Regions from separate parts of the Homo sapiens genome. Here region 1 is linked to region 2. The links are contacts of gene promoters, found by promoter capture Hi-C in blood cells and fetal thymus (Javierre and others, 2016). All regions are on one chromosome and are shown on one strand. The core of a region is centred on a gene start or on the middle of the fragment in contact, and the rest is flanking DNA. Distances in the headings are between cores, read along the strand shown. Region 1 overlaps TLL1 (tolloid like 1). Region 2 holds the start of TLL1 (tolloid like 1).

Region 1 (7,451 bases), core at 3,579-6,078, 120 kb after region 2:
GTACATTTTGCTTAGTTGAGTGCCTCCGTTTTCAAGTCAACCATCTGACTCAAAGAAGAGTGGGAATTTATTCTTGCAGAAAAAATTAATACTAATAAAGATGATGACAATGATAATCATTTGTAGTGATTGGGAGCTTGTTAAAAATGTAGAATCTGAGGCTCCTCTCCAGACTTACCAAATCAGAGTCTGCACTTTGGCCAGATTCTCTATGATTCTTATGCAAATTAAAGTTAGTGAAGCACTGCTTCAGTGTCTAGTGGCCACCACACTACCAGCACTAAGAAAGGAAGAGACAGGCTGAGAGTCCCTGCCAGTGGATGATCAGAGCTATTTGCATTGTAAATGCACCTGATGGAAGTTTCATATAACTAGTCAACTTGGATTTACCTTACAGTCTTAAAAAGTGTAAAATGTATTTTTATGAAAACCAACAAGCCTTATATTATAATTGGCAAAATATTTAACTTGGGTAAGTTTCTTGCGGGGGTCTGGCTTTAGGGATGCTGGAGCATTAGTGTTTTCTGCTGCGTCTGTACGAAGCTGATTAGAATCTCGATTCAATTTCAGGCATCAAAACCACCCTCTTAGCTAGTGTTATAAACTATTCTGTACACTCTTTGTGGCTTTGCTGCTATGAGAGTAAACGAAAGTAAGCATTTCTTTGCTTCTTTAGACTGCCTTTCCATTGGAAATAGGGCCAGTGAGGGGTTTAAGAGAGAAATCTAATTATAGTAAAGATTTTTCTATATGTTGAAGTGATAACCTACATTTTACTAATTTCTATTTTCTTCCTTTCTAGATTCCCACATAAATCTAACCCCTTCCTTCTTATCTCATGTCAGTTTTGCACTGGGTAAATAATTTTATATGATAAACCTTTGATCAAAGCCTAAAACATTGCACAGCTTTTAGGACTGAAGTTTAAACTTCATAAATAACTAATTCTCTATAGTGGAAAAGTTCATAAATATTAAGATTTAAATCCAATGAAAGACAGTAATTTGAAAAGCATGGATTTTGTCACTTTCTACGATTTTAATGTATTTTCTTTCTTTTCCTTTTGGTTTCACAGAAGAAAATCTGAAGAAAGGTTTAAAAATAAAGAAAATTGGTAAACCTGTAAAAAACAAATATCCCTGTATTTCTAGGTATTTTTCAGTGTTCTACTGTCTCATGATTAATTTCTTATTTCTCGAGTTTTTTGTGCTTCCTAAAGTTACTGTGCTTTGACTCTGGCAGTACTAAGGGATTGGTTGGTGTAGCTTGTATTCAAATAAGCAGGGAGACTATTTTATTGTTACACTAATATATATGACGAACTTTAAAAGAGAAATTCACATACTAGTTATCAATGAACTCTCCCATGGTTTCACAATGGTTTATAGAGCTTTGCTTTATTAAGTAGCATAATACACTAGGTAAAAAAGATAGAGTCAGACTGAGAGCAGTTGCTCACTCCTGCAATCCCAGCATTTTGGGAGGCTGAGGCAGGAGTATTGCTGGAGGCCAGGAGTTCATTATCAGCCTGGGCAACATGGCACAACCCTTTCTGTACAAAAAATACAAAAATTAACAGGCATTACAAAAATTAGCCCAGCGCAGTGGAGTGTGTCTGTAGTCGCAGCTACTTGGGAAGCTGAGGTAGGAGGACTACTAGAGTCTGGGAGGTTCAGGTTAAGTCTACAGTGAGCCGTGATCGCACCACTGCACTCCAGCCTGGGTAACAGAGAGACCCTAACTCAAAAATAATAAAAATAATAATAATAGAGTCAGAGTGTTTTCAGGTTTTAGGGTAATGACTTGGTGGCTCTTGAAAATATGGACCGTGTTATATTTGTCATTAAAGATAAAAAATCTGGCATCTAGTTGTTGCCTAAATAAATATTGACTTAAGTATTACTTTTGGTAGTTATATATCCATTTTACAGAGACTCAGAGGCAATGCCATCTTAAGATAAAGTGTATTATAAATTGTATGAAATGTGGTGAATGAATTGCTACAATAGCACTAGGTATTCTTTTGTCTTGATTGCACCTTGCATTATAAAATTATCTTAGTTTATAAAATATCACATGGTTTAGTTGTTACTGCTTTTCCTTTTTCCTCTCAGTGAAGACCTGCTGCTGGTCATAAGAATCCACAGAAGATGCAGACATTCTTATCCGATTTTCAGATATTTGCGAATTAGCTCATGATTGCCTATTTCTCTTTATTTAGAATCTCCATAATCAGTAACCTTCTTATTCAAGGAAACTACTTTCCCCCTCTCCACAAGCAACAATGTAAAAAAATGGAGTTATGCCCTTTTACAGGTAGCTAATATTTGTCCTGTAACAGGTCCAGTGCATTCAGTTATGATTACTTTCTGAAAGATCTGTCTCTATCCAGACCACGTTTCCATATTTTTAACAATGCTTTTCTAATTAGCTTTGTGTGTATTGATTTCACGGAAATATTTTACATTTTAATTCAACTTTTCTTTTTTTAGCTGTATTTTGGGGCGATATTGCCTTAGATGATGAAGACTTAAATATCTTTCAAATAGATAGGACAATTGACCTTACGCAGAACCCCTTTGGAAACCTTGGACATACCACAGGTATGGTTGATTGTTTCAGAAAATTTGTCTTTATTTTGGAGAAAATATACTCTTGAAGTGCTATAAATATTTTTGGATCATTTTTCATCTCCTGTTGATCAACTCTGACTTCCTATACACAAATATACATATTTAGAAATGCAGGTTTTATTCATAGTTTTCATTTTATTAATTTTTTTTTTTTTTTACCAAACAGGTTGTAGTATTTGCTACATACTAGGTCTGGTTTAAGTGCTTTGCAGGTATTAATTCTCTGAATCTTCATGACAACCCCCTCAGGGTAGTTACTAATATTACTATGATTTTAGAAATCAGCAGATTGAGATTTAGAAGGCTATACAGCTTTCTTATCGTCACATCATCAGGAAGTGGCCATGTCAGAACCAGAATTCAATTCTGAAAAAAGCTTGATTTTGTCCTCTTGAGTATTATATTAAGTTGCCTCTCATTTGGATATTGAGTTGCAAAATGTAAATTATTCTTAGAGAAATTATATAGGAAATGTATTTGAAATTATATAGGAATAATATTTGGAAAATTTATATATCTATATAATTTTTGTAAAAACCCCAGAAGGCAATTTTAATTTTAGTTGATTTAAACATGTTTGAATTATGCCTGTAAGAAACTTGATATATGTAAAAGATTATTTCAGTTCTCATTTAACAATTTTTTAAATTAAAATTTCAAAATTCTTTGTAGTATCTTGGTAAAATTTTTATCTGTGTATTATTCTGGAGAAAATTGCAAGGTTAGAAAGTTAAAATCTCTTTCTCTAATTATATTAATAGCTAAAATATTTATTTCATGTCATGCTTTTGATTTCATTGCATTCTCCCTTTTTAGTATTTTTATTTTCTCCTATTCTGTGGAAGTACAATATGTGGTCCTTTCTGATATCAAATGCACATATATATTATGGACTTAAGACTTTTTACTGTGACTTTTTACTTTGCCCAATTTACTTTTTTTGCCACTTTTTACTATGACCAGTTTTAAATATATCGAAATATTTCTACCTATTAGATTGTAGAATAGTGGTATTCTTACTTGTTAGATTCAGCAGTTTTTAACAGTTTATGATTTTCACTGAATGTGTGTGTGTGTTGTGTGTGTGTGCATACATGCATACGTGTGTTTAAAACAAATTTGAAGTCAACTGCAGAAAACGCACTTTAATATTATTAGGTAGTCTAGCATGTACTTTGTAAGAATAAGGATATTATTCTATATAATCAAAATACCACTATCAGATATAAAAATTTATTTAAAGTAGGGAGTATGTAAGAGAAAGCCTAAGGAATTCATCTAAAATAATAACACCATGTAAAAATAGGGTGCTTTGGTGTTTGTTATGCATAGTGACAATCTTTTCTAAAACATATATCAGTATGGGTGCTAATATTGCTGTGCAGTGTCACCACAGATAGCGTATCCCTCTAGATTATGTTTCTTGGCCAAATCTCCAGTTGCTATATCACCTGTAACACTGTCATGGAGACAACGCATTCTGGACAGTAGAGCAATGATACAACAATAAAATGCTAGAGTTATTATAAGTTGCATTTCCAACTTTTATTAAAATTTTCATTAGCTCTAAGCTTTAGATCACTTCTTTGACCTCCCTTCTCCCATTATTTTGAAGGCATTGATTTTCTGTGATTTTAAATTTTTAAAATGTTGTTATTTAATTTAATTTTATTTATTGTTAAACTCTGAGACCATAATAATTGGAAGAAAAATAGTGTTATTTTAGACATAGAATAAAACAGATCATACTGATAATAATAAAAACACTTATTCTAAATTTTTCTGTGGAAGGTACATGTTTGAAAGTTCAATAGTAACTTGCACTACTCAGTTGAATTGCAAACAATGTAATATAAATATAGTTGTTACATAATGGTCATTTCAAACATCATTGATGCCATACTTTTAAAATGTTTCTCCTAATTGCTTAGGAATGAATGTATTTAAGTATTACCTCATCTTTCTAAAATGTGCAATGAAAAAATTTCAAAAATGTTTCTCAAGATGCACAGCAAAAATGTGGCCATGTAATGGAAGTAATTAAGTAGATTATTAGTCAGTGAACAAGCACTCTAACTTATTTGCCTTATAAGGACTTATTTGATTTTTCCCTTAAGAGGCTTATATAGCAATAGATTTTATCATTTTTTTTTAGCTTCAGTCTAGGTAATTAGGTGCATCACAATTTTAAATAAAAAAATAGATATTGGAAGGAAATAGTTCAAGTGATTTGTGAATAGTTCAAGTTGTCGTCGTGGAATTATAGCTTTCTTTGTCTTAGCCCAAAGATACTCTATGAACCATAGATACTCCATGTTACTACAAATTCATAGGCACTTGTTAAGATGTCATTAGTGGCTGTATTGGTTGTTTGCTGAATGATAACTTTTTCCTATTTGTCTAATAAAAATTCAAGGAGAATAGAGAAAATAGGTGACAAAACCGAGAGTAGCATTTTATAAAAGCCCTGGAATGAAAATCTGGAGACTTGAATTATTGCCAAATGCTATGCTTTCTGACTTATGACAGGAATCTACCTTTTCTAGGTTTTGTTGGTAAAATTGCAAGAACACATATTGCCTTATTCCTACCGTTTCCTATTCCTTTTGCACTACAGACTTTTTTTACACTCTGTTTTTTATAAATTTTTCAAATTACACAGCGTAACAGAATATATTTTGCAGCTGAACATTCGTTTGGATTCCTGTGGCTTTTTCCAAATTACGTTTTTGATTTCTATAAATTCAACTAAATTTTCAAAATGCAGTTGAATATATTGTTAAAATGTGATATGCTTTAAAAAGTTTTTGAAATTCATGGAAGCTTTGGAAGAAAACATGCATTACACATTTGCTCTTCTAATGTTTTTATTTCCATTTGCTGATTTGGCCTCCGAAAATATTCAGTTTGCACTGGGGAAATAGCTGGCATGCAATCAACAGGGCAGAACAACTTGCTGTCATTCTATGTAGCACTATGTGATGTCAAGGTCACAGTAAAGAAAAATGTTTCAAATTATCAATAGATGACTCAATTGTCATGATGTCCAAATAAAGTTATTTACATTGCTCTCTGAGTCTCCCCATCCCCTTATTTTAGTTACCAACATTGGTTGCTGTAGAGTTTTTACCCCCTTCAAAGATTCATGGATATTCATAATTTCAACACTTTAAGACCACATAAAAAATGACCAAAGAGAAATCATTGTTGCCTATGACTGTTTTTTATTTGCAAGAACTTTAACATATTTTGAGTTTAACTTGTTTCCTTTTATTCTTTAAGGTGGACTTGGAGACCATGCTATGTCAAAGAAGCGAGGGGCCCTCTACCAACTTATAGACAGGATAAGAAGAATTGGCTTTGGTATATCAATGTTTAAAGTTGCAGACGCTTGACTTGATGTACAGTAAATATTATACTCATAGCAGTTCAGTTTATTAAAATCAGTGTGCCATTATGATGTGAAGTATGTAAATGATATATTCTAAAACTTTTTATTTTGCTAGCTCATATCTGATCAAAGCCTTTTAGAACTCATTTGGAATAATTTGAAATGTTCCTTTAATTTATTTTAAGCTTCTCTTTATTTAAACATGTATCAGGTGTTTATTTTATTATTGATACTTATTTCCAGGCAATTCAGCATCACACCAAGGTATTTTTATAAAGCCTGGATCAATTTTAATCAAGTGAAAAAATATCATGGTTATTTGTTTTGAAATAAATCTACTTAAAGTAAAATGAAAAACTTATTACCGGATTTAAAAAGTTAAAATGTTTTGACCATTCAAAAAATAGAAAATAGTTATAAATATATATAAACATTCAGAACTAATTATGCCTCTGGCTCATAATTAGTTAATATTTACAGTATTGAATGTATTAAAAATTATTTGTAGATTTTAGAGGTTTGTTTAAAATCCTGTATGCATAGCTCATATTCTAACGTTCCTTAAATTGATGGATTACTAATTAAATGCTTGAAGTACATATTTCCAAGGAATAATTTTCCCAAGCAAAAGTGCTTTGCTCCAGGCTATTGAAAAGACAGACATGTTAGAGACAGAGTCCCTATTTGTTGTGTCAAAGTATACACCAGTGGCAGGATATTCATATTGACAGTGATAGATAAGAAAGAATAATCATGTAAATTTAGGAGAAACAAAAACAGCAACAAAAATATTATGAAAGGCCATTAAGAAAAGGAAAAGACTATAGACTTGAAAGCTGCTCCAGAATAGAATGCATTTTGTTCGTGTTGTGTACTGACCTCTAAATCATGCTGCATTCCTTAATATGAATACTGAGGAAACTGGAATGGAGATAGCTTGTTGTACGGGAGGCTGAGACCATATTTGTCTTAATGTTACTTCATTTACTACCTGTATAATATAGTATTCTTAATTTTAGACTGTACTGTGGAATATCAGTTCAGATTTGAAGGATTAGGAAACTAGCAGGAGTAACAAGAATCTTAAATATCATGGGACTTTATTAAACAATATTTGTTTTAACTGTTGGTGAATTGATAGTGACTAGCAAGACATGAAACAGAAAACAAATTTTCTGTGGCCTATAAGCCTGACTGACTTCTATCCACTTTAGGCTGTTGTATGGATATCCAACAAAATTCACTCACAGAACATTAAGATATAGTATTTTGACATGAAATACTTCAATATTTTAATGCTTTTGTTCAAGTATGTAATATAACTGAAGTTTTTCTTTAATGCATTTTGACTTCTGGCATTTATACAAAAAATATGTAAATAAGACATTTTAACTTTTGTCCTTTAAGAGGTAAATGATTCCCTGACC
Region 2 (7,842 bases), core at 4,850-7,349:
GTTTTAAATTTATGCCAACCAATTACCCAACAACGTATGTATTCAAGAGGTCAGTAAACAATATCAGCCTTTTCAGTTTAACTTATTTCAGCACACTGTGTTTTTATTTACTATTAAGATGTTTGTTCTCATAGATCCAGAACAAAATTTATTTTATCAACTTATTTTCACAAGGTTTATTTTGTGAAGGTAAATTAATAAAGTTAGCAATAGGGTATTACTATTATTTGGACATTTAGTTATTTATGGGTGGGAATGGAAAGGACAGATGAAATCCTCAAGTGAATGAGTCCTGTTAGAAATTTAAACCTTCTACTTTCTTTACTGCTTTCTTCATAATCTTTTATTACCTGCCAAGGAAAAATCTTGCTTTTCTCAACCGTTTCATAAATACTTATTAAAAGTTTCATAAATACTTATTACAAATTTCCTTTCAGATTGGATTGCTGGTGCTCTGGAATTCCGTATCAGTGGGCAGAAGAAGAGGTGAGGACTTCATAGCTACGGGTTCCTGTCACGTGCCAGGCTGCATGCGAAGTGATTTACATACTTGATGTGTTTGCATTGCAAAATAACCATATGAGGTAAGCATTTTATTTTATTTTATTTTAAAGGTGAGAAAAATTGAGCTAAGAAAGGATAAGTGTCCAAAGACATCTAACAAGGAGAGCGACAAGGACTTAAACACGTTTTCCCATCCCAAACCCTGCTTTTATACTGAATGTATAGATTTTTAAAATTAATTTTCACTGATATTTTAGTGTTCAGTGTTTCCAGTGATGGAATCTTTTAGAATACTACTTCGATTATAAAATCGAGTTAATTTTATTTTTGTCCATAAAAAATTATTTTGCATCTTGTATGTACAAAGTATTTTGTGGGATTCATTTATGGAAAAGATGTGGCTCCTATCCTCTATGAGATGGACAACTTGAATGCAAGGCAGAGTAGAGGGACTTCTTTGTAGACTATCATCTGGGGAGTCAGGAAGGATACAATGCAGCCAGGATGGAAGGAAGAATGGGCTTTAGCTGGGGATGGAGGTCATTGGCCATTGTTAGGCATATAGCTCTCCACTGCCCAGCACCTGTTTAGCAGGATTAGTAGAAATGCAGGCTCCCAAAAAGTGGCCAGCCAAAGGAGACAGTGGAGGATCAGGGGTTATAAGGCAACCATAATATGTCCATGAATCACTCACTCATTTCAACTCCCTTTCCCCATCTTTAAAATAGCTTAAGACTCTAAAAACTTTGGCAAGTGATTGACCTGGATAATGTGCCTTAAGGAGTTGAGTGTATTCCTTTCTTCCAAGAAGCTGATAATACTCCATCATTATAGTTTTAAAACTAAATTATTCTCATTGTGTTGGAAGTATATAATACGATCCATCAAAGGTTTCAGAGTCTATTTTTTAATCACCTATGAAGTAAGTAAAATAAAATACAAATTAAATTTTATAGGGAAATTGCTTAGGAAGTCTTGGGAGACATACTTTATGCTCATAATGTAAAAATATGAAAACAGTACTATATTAGCTAAATAAAGGGGACAGAAAATGGCCAGATGAGAGGCGTTCTAATGTCAGTCACTATATTATTGGGGAATTTATAAAGAACACCAGTAATGTTTATTTTTTAGTTTGAGGGGTTTTGTATTATTAATGGAATTTTTCAAAGAAAATTATCCTAGTTTTATTTAATCTGTAGCCAGATTTGTGTGTGTGTGTGTGTGTGTGTGTGTGTGTGTGTGCATGCTGAATTTCTTGCCTGCCAGTGGAAAAACTATGTATAGATTTTGCCGATCACTAGAAAAATACCAATTAATAATAATAACCAACTTTTTTAATGTTGCTAGCTTACATCTGCTAGGGAGTACATTGCATGCATAATTTTATCTAGTTCTCAGTTTAACCCTATTAGGTATTTCATTTCTGTTTCAAAAACCAGGAGAGTGTAGCTAGGGAAGTAACTTGCTCAAGGCAAGATAGCTACTAAATGGGAAAGTGAGTATTAAGTCTGTGTTTTCTGTGGCTGAATTCTGTGCTCTTAACCGATTTGTTCATTGCTTCTCTCCAGCATCACTTTGAGTAAGTTATTCTGCTTTAGGTCAAGTGAAGAAAGAGAAGCTTCTTTTCAAATAATGTAGTTAGAGGGACTGGAAATAATTTGACTTTTTAGAACTCACTTAAAATGATAATAATAACAGTTACCAAAAGTTCTTATGTACTAGGAACTAGTATACACATAGTTTCTATATATGAGGAACTATAAAAAATATCACATATATTAATTAACTTATTCTTTGTAACAACTCTATGAAATATCACTATCCCTAAAATTATCTGCGTTTTATGAATGAGAAAACTGAGGACACTTGAGGTTACAAAAGCAGGTACAAAGTTACCAAGCTAGGAAGTAGAGAGCTGGAAATTGCACTGAGGGACTGTTTCCAAGCTCTATACTCTTGTGCCTCCTTAACTAGGTGTTCAGGGTACAACAGTGAGGATTCAGTAAAGGAGCAGAGGTTACATAATTGGAAACCTACTAGTGGACTCAAGCCTTTGAGTCCCATTAGGTTGGAAATAAGAAGACCTCCTTCTTATTCCATTCCACTGCCCCCATTTCACTTTGGCCAAGCTGTTGCCCAAAGGAAGAATGCAATCATTTCTGGATGTCATTAAGCAATTATATATGTTTTTTTAATACACAAGTCAGTGGATATTCTGAAGAGTGATACAGCAAGTGATGCCTAAAACAGCAAACAAATCCAAAGTGCCAACAATGAATACATGCAGCTTCCCCGTCCAGACTCAGACCTTTTGTATTGAAGGACTGGAAGTGAAAATGACTGATAAGCAGGTACGAGAAGGAAGCAACTGTGGGACAGGTGTGATGGAGGAGGCAAATGGCAGGAACCCACAGGCAGTGTGGTGTAGCAGAGGACGGGAGCTGAACTAGATCAGTGTTTATCAAACATTAGTCAACCTTCACCTGCTACCTTCATCACTGGCTTAATTTCACAAAGCAAGTGCCTTGGTTTTTAGCTTAAGCATGATTGTAAGAACTATATATGCAATGGCAAATTTAATAACTATTTTTTTCTGATACATATACACATCTATATGTAGTTTATTACTACATTACCTAAAATCACTTCATGTACTCTCAGCAATTTAAGTACCACACTTTGGGACACTGAACTCTACTATTAGGAGATGCCATGTAGAACTGAAAGAAAGCTCATGAAATAAAGCTGTATCTATCCAGTAGAGGGTCACATCAGAATGGGGTGAAAATAAGAGTTAAATGGTCTGGAGTAGCTAAAAGCCATAAAAACAAAGGACATCTCTGTTCCCCACAGTGAGGGCCAGTGAGGGCATGGTAGAGAGAAAGACTAGTACAGTAAACTATTAAAGAATAACCAGAGATTCTGTTTAGGGGCCCCTATTCAGATTATAATCCGGAATCCATTGCAGAAGGAAAGCTCCTTTTATCCCCTGGGTATTTTTTTTCACAAGGGACAAAAGGGAAATATATTCATTCATGTATTACTTGGTCTTATAACACAAAAAGATCACATCTAGCTTTGCACAAATCTAGATTAGAAAGAGTACATGTCTAATTGATATTTTCTACAAGGGAAATTTATTTTAATTGGTATTTCCAACGTGATATACTAATTGGCATAGAGCTTGCCTTTTGCAGCACTCTTGGTTGGCTTCATTCCCTATTATTGCTGAGAGTGATGGGGTCCTGTTGTAGGTGGCAATGGTGATCAAGAGAGCTTGTCAGCTAGAAGCCAGGGCAACATCAGCACATGTCTTACTAAGGGAATCAATTTCTCCTTTTTGTCTTTCTGAGGAGATTGAATTCACGTACTGCGTGTCTGCAGCTATACTATGACACAGCAATCAACTCCTTGCTCACATACATATTCTTGCAAATTTATGTTTCTTTCATGGACAAGGAAAAATCTATTTTTAGTTTGTAATCATAACAACTATAGAGACAAAATTAGTTTAAAAAAATGAAGTTTCTTATTACAACCTAGAGTTAGATTTAATATTTAAAAATAAATCAGGGATTAAGCCTGGGTATTGTGATGTAGGTATTCTCTGCAAGTATATTAGCTGTAAAGAAACATTCCTGTATTTTGACTTGAAGTTCTACTATGAAAATCATTCTAACTCTCTGGACTACAAATTCATAAAATTATAAAACCAAATAATGAAACACATGTTAAAAGTAATAGGTGTCATTATACATAATGAAGCTATTATCCCTATACAGTACTTTTTTTCCCAGAACAAATGAATAAAACATATTTATTCCTGCAAAGTAAGTGATGTTTAGGCAAACCACAGGTAAAACTTCTTGCAAATTTACACATGATAAAATAGTCTAAGGAGATGTTTGCAGGCATTTAGATTAACAAGGGACATTTTTAAGGTTTGGGATAGGGAATGGGAACACTGTCAGCAGCTCAAGAGCAGGAATCCTCTAGATGACATATGCATTCTCTAGGCTTTCAGATGGGCTAAGCAGGACATATTCTTGTTGAGCTCTGCACTAGGGCAACACTATTATTAATTATGCAAACTTTTTTTTTTTTGGATGGGTAAGAGAATTTGAGAATGACTCAGCAAGAGATTTCAAAATCAAACGCCTCTACCTGCTTATTGAACATGTTCTTTTTAAAAATCTACTTCTGCTCTGTATCCTGGGCATTAAAAGCTTAAGATCTATGGAAGGGAAGCTCCATCATTGCAGTGGCCTCTGAGAAAGACCCAGTTTTGCAAAGAACACTTGGTCAGTTCAGTTCCACCTAGCCTTCCTATACTTTTAGTTTAAGTTGAAAATACTTGGTACTTTTTCAAGATTGGCTTCTTACTTTTCTCTAACAAACATGAATAAAACCTAGTAAAATCTCCAAACCAAAGATGACTTTATCTGTCAAAGTTGTGTGTGTGTGTGTGTGTGTGTGTGTGTGTGTGTGTGTGTGTTTACCTTCATACATTCCTCTAGATGATAACTTGGATAGGGGGAACACTAGTCAAATAATATGTAAGGCTTTTTTTTTTTTTACAAGTCCTTGCTAAAGTGACAGTTTTAAAGATTTAGTTGGAAAAGGAAAGCTCCCAATCACCAGTCCCTTGGAAGCTTGTTGGGGGAGAAGTCATCTCACCTATTTTGGAAACTACTTGCAGATGTGGGGAAACCTCGGAATTGCTCACAACAGGGGTTTTACAGAGATTTCCTCTGATTTTTTTCCTCCCCAATTTCCCACAACCTGTGTTTGTCTTGAGTCTGCTCGGCTGACATGTGGTTTACCTCGCTGACCCTCCTGCCAGGTTTTACACCCTCTCCTCTGAAGAAGTAAAACATTACTGAAGCCGAAGGATACTGAGCAACTCTGCTCATGGGCGCCAGAACTGTCACAGAAAATTTGCTTCCCGAGTATTCCATCCAGCTTCCCTTCCTGCGCCCACGTGAGCCATAGCGCCAGCCCATCGGCAAGGTCTCAGCGTTTCCTGCTGCTGCAATCTGTAACTCGATTTTGGATTTTTTTTTTAATTGCAGTTCTGAGGATCTTAGTTCTTAGCAAAACTTTGTTGGTTAGGAGACCAACAGTAGTCTGTTTATTTTCTTACCAAAATCGTGAAGACTCGCACACTTTTCCTCCATTCCTGCGCTGCTCTAAGGTTAAACAGCAGCAAAGGAAAGAAATACACACTCGCTGTTTATTTGGGGGGAGGGGAAATATGGATTTGCAGCTAAGTTATCACGATCCTTCGCTCCACCCCCGGTCTGGCACTCTCAACTGACACGTACATCATCTATTAATTGCTGTTTGCGTACACAGATACATAATATATTCATTTTTATCTTTGGTAAAATATAAATGGAATTGTCAGCGCGCTCCTGTCTGTTTGTTTGTCTAAGGCTATCAAAAGAAGTCAAGAGAGGAGGCTGTGGTCCGGATCCTGACCCTGATTGTATGAATAAGTAAGCAGGATGCAAGTGATTGGGTTAGATGGTGCGAATATTTTTTTTTTTCAAGTTAGGAAGAGGGTAAAAAGACAGGCTGGCGGGGGGAAGGCAAACAGTGCATCCCCAAATCCTCACACTTTTGCTCTCTTGCAGTCAGTTGCTTTGCTGGCTTCTGCAGGCTTTTAAGGTCTCGCGGCGTAGAAATGCCTGGCCCCCACCCCCTTCCTCGGTCTCCCCTTTCAATTCAGATGTGCTGATGTGCAGACCGGATTCATCTTCTCGGAGCTGCGGCGGCGGCTTTGGGCTCAGGCGGCGGCGGCTCGCGCTCGGCCGCGGAGTCCTGGCAGCAGCGGGGACGCGGCGCGGGAGTCCGAGCTCTGGTGGCAGCTGAGCCCGCGGGGCGCCGCTCGCCGAGCCGCGGCCGCGGGAAGTTCGGCAGCCAGAAGGACGACCTGGCAGGCTGCGAGCGCCAGCGCCGCCAGAGCCGAGTTTGCCTGCGCCCTCCCCGCCTCCGAGTGCAGAGTTCCTTACCTGCCCTCCGCCCACCCGTGGGCCCCTAGCCAACTTCTCCCTGCGACTGGGGGTAACAGGCAGTGCTTGCCCTCTCTACTGTCCCGGCGGCATCCACATGTTTCCGGACACCTGAGCACCCCGGTCCCGCCGAGGAGCCTCCGGGTGGGGAGAAGAGCACCGGTGCCCCTAGCCCCGCACATCAGCGCGGACCGCGGCTGCCTAACCTCTGGGTCCCGTCCCCTCCTTTTCCTCCGGGGGAGGAGGATGGGGTTGGGAACGCTTTCCCCGAGGATGCTCGTGTGGCTGGTGGCCTCGGGGATTGTTTTCTACGGGGAGCTATGGGTCTGCGCTGGCCTCGATTATGATTACACTTTTGATGGGAACGAAGAGGATAAAACAGAGACTATAGATTACAAGGACCCGTGTAAAGCCGGTAAGTGGCTCTCCAGGTTGGGACGGTGGCGCGCCGGGGGCCGCTGCGCTGGGTTTCCCATGGGTGGCGGTGGGAGCTCACCTGTTTCCTTCCCTCCCGCGTCAGCCCCTCCGCCGCCCCTCCTTCTCTCCCCCTCCTTTTCCTTCCCTTCCCCACCCGCAAGTGGCAGCCGCTGCGGCCCCAGTTGACTAGAGTTCTGTGCCAGTGGGATCCACTGCCAAGCTCCCATCTCCCAGTTTGGGAATAAGGTCCTAGAGTTTCTGATCCCTCTCCCCTCCCCCAGCAAAACGAAACAAGTCGTAAATATAGCTTGCTGCTGTAGGTTTTAAATTCCAACACTCAGCGGGCTTTATGCATATGGAAGGGACACCGTCTTCTTTCCCCTCTCCCCCAGGGCGCGGTTTCCCAGCGCTTGTTCGAGAGCGAGTTGGCAGGGTTCCCCAAAAGATACAGGAGGATGGCATTGCTACCTGGAGACACCTTGGCTCCCTCTTTTACCAGGAATTTCAAGTGTGGGTTCCAGGCTAGAAAGGGATTGTGACAATCTCGGAAGAACTCACTTCTAGATGGGATTCTGATGCATTTGCCCATTTAAAATAAACTGAAAAGAAAAATGTTTTTAAGTTGCTACCCCATTCAAATTTGTGTCTTCCTTCCAGCTAACACCCCAGGGAAATGCAGTCGGACCGGCACTGCCTGAAGCTCAGCTTCTTGCCTCGCAGGGTCCCTGAATGTCCCAGGTCCTTCCCCTCCCTTCTACGCCTCTGGCGCCGCTGCCAGCCTCTCGCGCGCGCGGGGCGGCGCTTCCCTCTCGCCGCCTAAGGTCGGAGGCGCACGTGCCCGGGGCCGCTACCACGTGAGCGCAGCGCCTGAGGGCGCCCAGCACTGGCCGCGGCTCGTGTCCGG

Evidence for each region. The method cuts DNA at HindIII sites, captures the fragments that hold promoters and counts their contacts. A CHiCAGO score of 5 or more calls a contact.
Region 1: a contact is called between a fragment that was not itself captured here and the fragment with the promoter of TLL1 in region 2, in 1 of 17 cell types (endothelial precursors). The highest score is 5.3, in endothelial precursors.

What each region holds. Positions count from the first base shown.
Region 1 is chr4:165,986,889-165,994,339 of GRCh38, forward strand. TLL1 (tolloid like 1) reads left to right here. Exons shown (of 21, transcript NM_012464.5): 2 at 2,493-2,603; 3 at 5,916-5,996. Among named protein-coding and RNA genes, the nearest start is that of TLL1, 120 kb to the left of the region's middle. The HindIII fragment of the contact is 1,252 bases long and covers 4,203-5,454 here.
Region 2 is chr4:165,867,138-165,874,979 of GRCh38, forward strand. TLL1 (tolloid like 1) reads left to right here and starts at 6,100. Exons shown (of 21, transcript NM_012464.5): 1 at 6,100-6,936. The coding sequence starts at 6,768. The HindIII fragment of the contact is 7,346 bases long and covers 5,158-7,842 here.